Linked DNA regions of Homo sapiens: region 1 is linked to region 2. The links are contacts of gene promoters, found by promoter capture Hi-C in blood cells and fetal thymus (Javierre and others, 2016). All regions are on one chromosome and are shown on one strand. The core of a region is centred on a gene start or on the middle of the fragment in contact, and the rest is flanking DNA. Distances in the headings are between cores, read along the strand shown.

What was found. The method cuts DNA at HindIII sites, captures the fragments that hold promoters and counts their contacts. A CHiCAGO score of 5 or more calls a contact.
Region 1: a contact is called between the fragment with the promoter of NTSR1-AS1 here and the fragment with the promoter of BHLHE23 in region 2, in 3 of 17 cell types (total CD4 T cells, erythroblasts and non-activated CD4 T cells). The highest score is 6.2, in total CD4 T cells.

What each region holds. Positions count from the first base shown.
Region 1 is chr20:62,733,974-62,736,793 of GRCh38, reverse strand. NTSR1-AS1 (NTSR1 antisense RNA 1) reads left to right here and starts at 1,435. Exons shown (of 2, transcript NR_199009.1): 1 at 1,435-1,568. The region is part of intron 1 of NTSR1 (neurotensin receptor 1); the gene reads right to left. RefSeq lists an enhancer at 1,166-2,011. The HindIII fragment of the contact is 3,056 bases long and covers 379-2,820 here.
Region 2 is chr20:63,005,647-63,008,346 of GRCh38, reverse strand. BHLHE23 (basic helix-loop-helix family member e23) reads left to right here and starts at 1,383. Exons shown (of 1, transcript NM_080606.4): 1 at 1,383-2,420. The coding sequence starts at 1,573. The coding sequence ends at 2,298. RefSeq lists enhancers at 251-958, 959-1,664. The HindIII fragment of the contact is 10,733 bases long and covers 1-2,700 here.

The sequences.
Region 1 (2,820 bases), core at 186-2,685, 270 kb after region 2:
TGAGATTTTGGGTGGGGACACAGCCAAACACATCACGAAGTAACTCCTACGCCAGGTGTGTGCATGTGGCCTGGGCCCTGGTCACAGATGGAAAATGAAGCAGTAAAACAGAGGAGGGTCTCAGCTTGCGGGTCCTATGCTGAGGGTCCAGGTTGTTCCCTGGGAGCCACAGGCCAGGGCCTCGGAGTCCTCGGAGTCCTCGCTGGGAAAGGGGCTCTGCTGGAGGTTTGGGCCCGCCCTGCATAGCTGGGAGCCCTCTCTTTGCCCCACCCACAGGTGGAAGCCACTTCCCTCCTCTCCCAAACCCCCTCTCCTGGTTCCCCAGTTGGAGTGATCCACAGAGGAGATTCTGCGTCTAAACTGGGACTCAGGGAAGCTTCTGGAACTGTGAGAGGGGTTTGGTTCCTGCCTTTCTGAAGACAAAGTGGCGCCTGTCTTTCAGGGCATTGCGCCTGAGGGTACAGAGAGTGGGGCTCTGCCTCTGGGGTCCCAGGGTCTCCCCAGCTGCCAAGGGCAGCAGCCCCAGACCCAGACAGGGAAAGGAGCCTGGCTTCCCTTCCCGCCCTGCTCCATGGGGCAAGTGCAGAGAATCCCCAGCCACGATGCCCCTGCCCGAGGCACCCCAGGCTCCAGGCAGATCTCAGGCCTCCTAACCCAGGCCCTGCCCCGAAGGGACAAGTTTCAGAACAAACTGTCCACTGGGCTAATACCCCGGCTTTTGTGATCACCACATACTGATTTCTATCGAGGGATGAAAATTGACAAATTTAAACGGGAATTACTGGGCTCGGAAATTTGTTCTTTGTAATGAAGGGAACAGTTGAATACAGAATCTGAATTTGGGATTCAGACCAGACCCCCTCAGAGAAAGTGCTGAACCCGTGAGGAATTGGAGGGTAAGGGGAACTGTTCTTGGCAACTCCTGTCCCATTTCCTTTTGGGATGGGGGCTGCTCCCGCCCCCTGCACAGCCCCACAGGTCACAGCGGGGAAGACCCTGTCCCTGGTCCCCGGTCGCAGTGTGTGCCCTTTCCTACTTCCCTGCACGCCAGCCTCAGGAGGTGAGCTCACCTCGCCGTGTCGGGGGGACTCCCGTGTTACCCACCCCCCAAGCCAGGGAGCGGCCTCCAGGGGAGCATGGGGGAGGCTGAGGCCACCTTGCGGGGAGGCTGTTCCTGGGGCTGGGACGCCTCTCTCTGAATCATCCCCGCCCACAGAAGGAATTCATCTCACTCCTAATAATGTGTTTGTCACAAAGACATAATCGGCTCATCTGTGAGACTCCAGCGTGCACAGCGGTGCTGGCTCTTTGTTGTATAGTGGCAGTCTCACTGCAAGGCCGTTGGGCTTTGAGGAAAGGGAAGGAGGCACCCACTCTCTCCCCGGGGGGCCCCTGCCTTCCCTCGCAGTCCCACCTCTTCCGCCTGCCTCCATCACAGCAATTCAAATAACTATGAATGGGGCTACCTGGGAGCCCCACATCCCTGGCTGTGGGAACAGGCTGACCTTCCAGCACAGTGTCCTCCTGGTGCCAGGCACTGCCCCTCTGCCAAGGACCCTGCAGGCCTGGTAGGTCCCCAAGGGCACCCGTGGCCTCCCACCCCCTAACCATGGTTTTGGCACTGAGCTGGCGGCCAGGCGGGGCAGAGGAGGGAGCTGAGCGTCTTTCTTTAGTGTGCACGTCACCGCACACGATGGCACCCCACTGGTTGCTGCCCATCATGCAGGGCTGCCTCCACATGGGGCCTCAGCACCGGCTGGTGCCTGGCACCCCGCACGCGGCACCCCACCCCAAGGGGAGGCTGTACAGGCTCTGGACACACCCCAAAGCCACCCGAGGGCTGCTTCTCATCAGCAGGGAGGGGCTCGGGCAGCACAGTCCCGTGGAAATAGGATGCAGGCCACGTGAGGCTTAAATGTACCAGTAGCTATGTTACAAAAGTGGAAGGAAACAGCTATGATAATTTTAATACGATATCTTATTTAACTTAATGTATTCAAAATATCATATCAACTTGCAACGGTATTAGTGAGCTATTGTATACCGCCTTTCCGCATTAACTCTAAAACCCGGTGCGGATTTCAGGCTGAAGCTCATCTTCACTCAGACCAGCCATGTCTCAATGCCCAGTGGCCACGTGTGGCCCAGGGCTGCCACATTAGACAGGGCTGCCTGCAGCTTTTATGGGAAGCCACCTGGGCCAGGCACACCAGCGCCTGCTCCTCGCTCCCCAGGGGTGGTCTTGGCCCCAGCTCTGCTCAGCAGAGAACCCAGAGCCTCCAGGTCAGCCCCGGACACAGGGCGTGGGCATTGCACAAGGTCAAGAATGAGTTACTCATTTTCAACCACCTAAAAAGATGGCCCCAAAATGAAGCCTGGGTAAGACAAGGGGCCACGTCCTTCCAGGAGCAGAGCTCGGCTTCCTCTGCATCGGCCACAAAGCCCCTACTGCACCGAAGCCCAAGAGCTGAGCCAAGATTTTTTTTTTTTTTTGCGGGGAAGGGGGTCACACTCCAGAGAAGGCTCCAGAAAAGCTCTCATCCCAGACCTCGCTGCCTCCGCCCGCCCCTCACGCCCCATCTCTTGCCCGTCCCCCACCAGGGCTGAAGAGTGAACTCAGTAGTAACCCACGTGGCTGAGCCAGAGAAGGAGGCTGCGCAGGGGACAAGGCGGTCGCTTCCAGGATGAGAAGCGCAGACTCGAGGTCGGGCAAACCTGCCGCCGGCCCCAGCCGTGTGCATCTGAGCAAGTGGCTTCCCCCAGCCTCAGGCTCCTCATCTGTGAAACGAAACCCCCTCCAAGCTGGGCTGGCTCAGCACC
Region 2 (2,700 bases), core at 134-2,633:
GCGCCTCAGACAGACGCTTCCATCCTCGGGGCCCCTGCGCTCCTGGCGGGCGTGTGCTGGGGGTGAGGCCGGTGCTGCAGGACGCGCAGCCAGACAGGCCGCCAGCCCGGCAGAGGCTGCCTCAGACCCATTCCCCTCCGCCAGGACAAAGGCCTGAGTTTCCCACGGAGACTTATCCATGCATCTGTCTCCTCACACCCCGCACCTGGCAGGGAACCACCGGACAGGCCGGTCACTGCTGCGTTCCCAGAACCTTCCAGACAGCACATCCGCCCCACACACGTGCAGCTCCCACTCCCCTCCCGGGGCTGCGCACACTGCCCCATCGCTGTGGCTCCTCCTGGGGCGGAGCCTGGAGAACAGGGAGGGTATGCGGCCCTTCCCAGGTCACACAGAAGGGCCCGACGGGCCGCTCCACCTCGTGCCATAGGCCAGGGTGGCCCAGTCTCCCACCCAAGCCAGGACCGGAGAAGCCACTATCCCTCAGCACACTCTAGCCTCAGCACTCGGCCGGGCCTCCAGGCAGGTTCCCACCTGGGAGAAGGGCTGGGGTTCTGGCCTTCATGCGGGGTTGGAAGAGGACTGAAAAGGCGAGTCCGAGGCTGGCCACATTCCCATCCAGTGTGGCTGGACCCCAGGGGTTCGGAGGCTCCGGGAAAGCCCACCAAGCCTCACGCGTTTCGCTGATAGATGCCCAGGAAGCGGCTGGCAGGGAAGAGGCGGTCCTGCAGCTCACAGAGCTCCCCTCCCACCCCCGGGGAGCCCCAGGCCGCGCTGCCCTCCACCTTCCCGCCCTCCCCGGCCTGCAACGCTCGTGGCGTTTTTCAACAGGTTCTAGAAACTCCCTCTCACTCTGCCCCTCAAGCCTGGCCACAGGGCGCCCCGAGCAGGGAGTGTGCGGGCTCCGGGTACACGCTGCGCCGCGGCTGCACCAGAGCGCCCACGACCCTGACCCCGACCCGAAGCGGCCCCTCAGCGGGACAGGGTGTTGGCGCTGGCGCTGCTGCTATTGCGGCGCGCCCCCCCGCTCTGGCCCCTGCGTGTCGCCAGGGACTCTTGCGCTAGGGTCAGACTCAAAGACGGACCGAGGCGGGTGCCCACCTGGGACGCGTGCGTTTGGTGGCGGAATCCCCGGGGCGGCCGGAGGCGGCGGCCGGGGAGTCGAGAAGCAAGTACTAGCGCTCCAGGACCGCGCGCGCCGCCCCGCGCCGCCCCGCGCCGCCCCTCGGTCCAGAGCCCCCACCCCCGGCCTGTGAGCCTGCGGCGCTGGTGGAGCCCGGCTCCAGGAAGAGGAGCTCACCCGGTCCCCCCTGATTGGACAGCAGCGAGGTCCCACCGGGCGCCTCCGCGGCTTAAAACCGAAGCGGGGGCGAGGGGGAGGTAGAGCCCGCCCCCTGCGCGTCGCGGCTGGGAGGGAGAGGAGGTGGGAGAGAAGGAAGAGGCGGAGGAGGCAGCGGGCGCCGAGGCTCTGGGACCCGCAGGCAAGCCAGACCGACGCGCAGAGCCGGGAGCCTCATCGCAGCGGCAGCGGCAGCGGCGGGCTCGGGCCGGCCTCGGGGGCTGCTCACCCACATGAGCATCCGCCCACCCGGCGAGCCCCCGAGCCCAGGCGGCGCGGCCATGGCCGAGCTCAAGTCGCTGTCGGGGGACGCGTACCTGGCACTAAGCCACGGCTACGCGGCGGCGGCTGCGGGTCTCGCCTACGGGGCGGCGCGAGAACCCGAAGCGGCCCGCGGCTACGGCACTCCGGGCCCGGGCGGCGACCTCCCCGCGGCGCCTGCACCTCGCGCCCCAGCTCAGGCGGCGGAGAGCAGCGGCGAACAGAGCGGGGACGAGGACGACGCCTTCGAGCAGCGGCGGCGGCGGCGCGGGCCAGGGAGCGCGGCGGACGGGCGGCGGCGGCCGCGAGAGCAGCGGTCTCTGCGGCTCAGCATCAACGCGCGCGAGCGGCGGCGCATGCACGACCTAAACGACGCGCTGGACGGGCTGCGAGCCGTCATCCCCTACGCGCACAGCCCGTCGGTGCGCAAGCTCTCCAAGATCGCCACGCTGCTGCTCGCCAAGAACTATATCCTCATGCAGGCGCAGGCCCTGGACGAGATGCGGCGCCTGGTGGCCTTCCTCAACCAGGGCCAGGGCCTGGCCGCGCCCGTAAACGCCGCGCCCTTGACGCCCTTCGGCCAGGCCACTGTGTGCCCCTTCTCCGCAGGCGCCGCCCTGGGGCCCTGCCCTGACAAGTGCGCCGCCTTCTCCGGGACGCCCTCCGCGCTTTGCAAACACTGTCACGAGAAGCCGTGACCGCGCGGGCCCCCGGCCCTCCCGCACGCGTCCTCCGATCGCCCCTGTGACTGTCTCTCTGCCCGGACAGGAAAGGCCTGGAGGGACCCTGCAGACCAGGAGGAGGGGGCCCGACTTCGCTTCCAGCCTGTGCGCGGTGGACAGTTTAGCGCAGCGGGAAGCGCCAAGGCCGTCGGGGCGCGGGATTGAGCTCGAGAGCCGGACGCTGGACTCTGCGCCCGGGAACTCGCGGCACCCACTGGGTATTGTCGGGACCCAGCAAGTCTAGGAACGGGGGTGGGTAGAGCATCCTTCGGGCACTGCCGTTCGTCCCCAAAAGAAGACCACCGCGGGGTCCCAGGGCCACGGCGAGGACGGGCACTGGTCAGATTCCGGACAGGCGGTCCTGGCCCCGGGCGCACG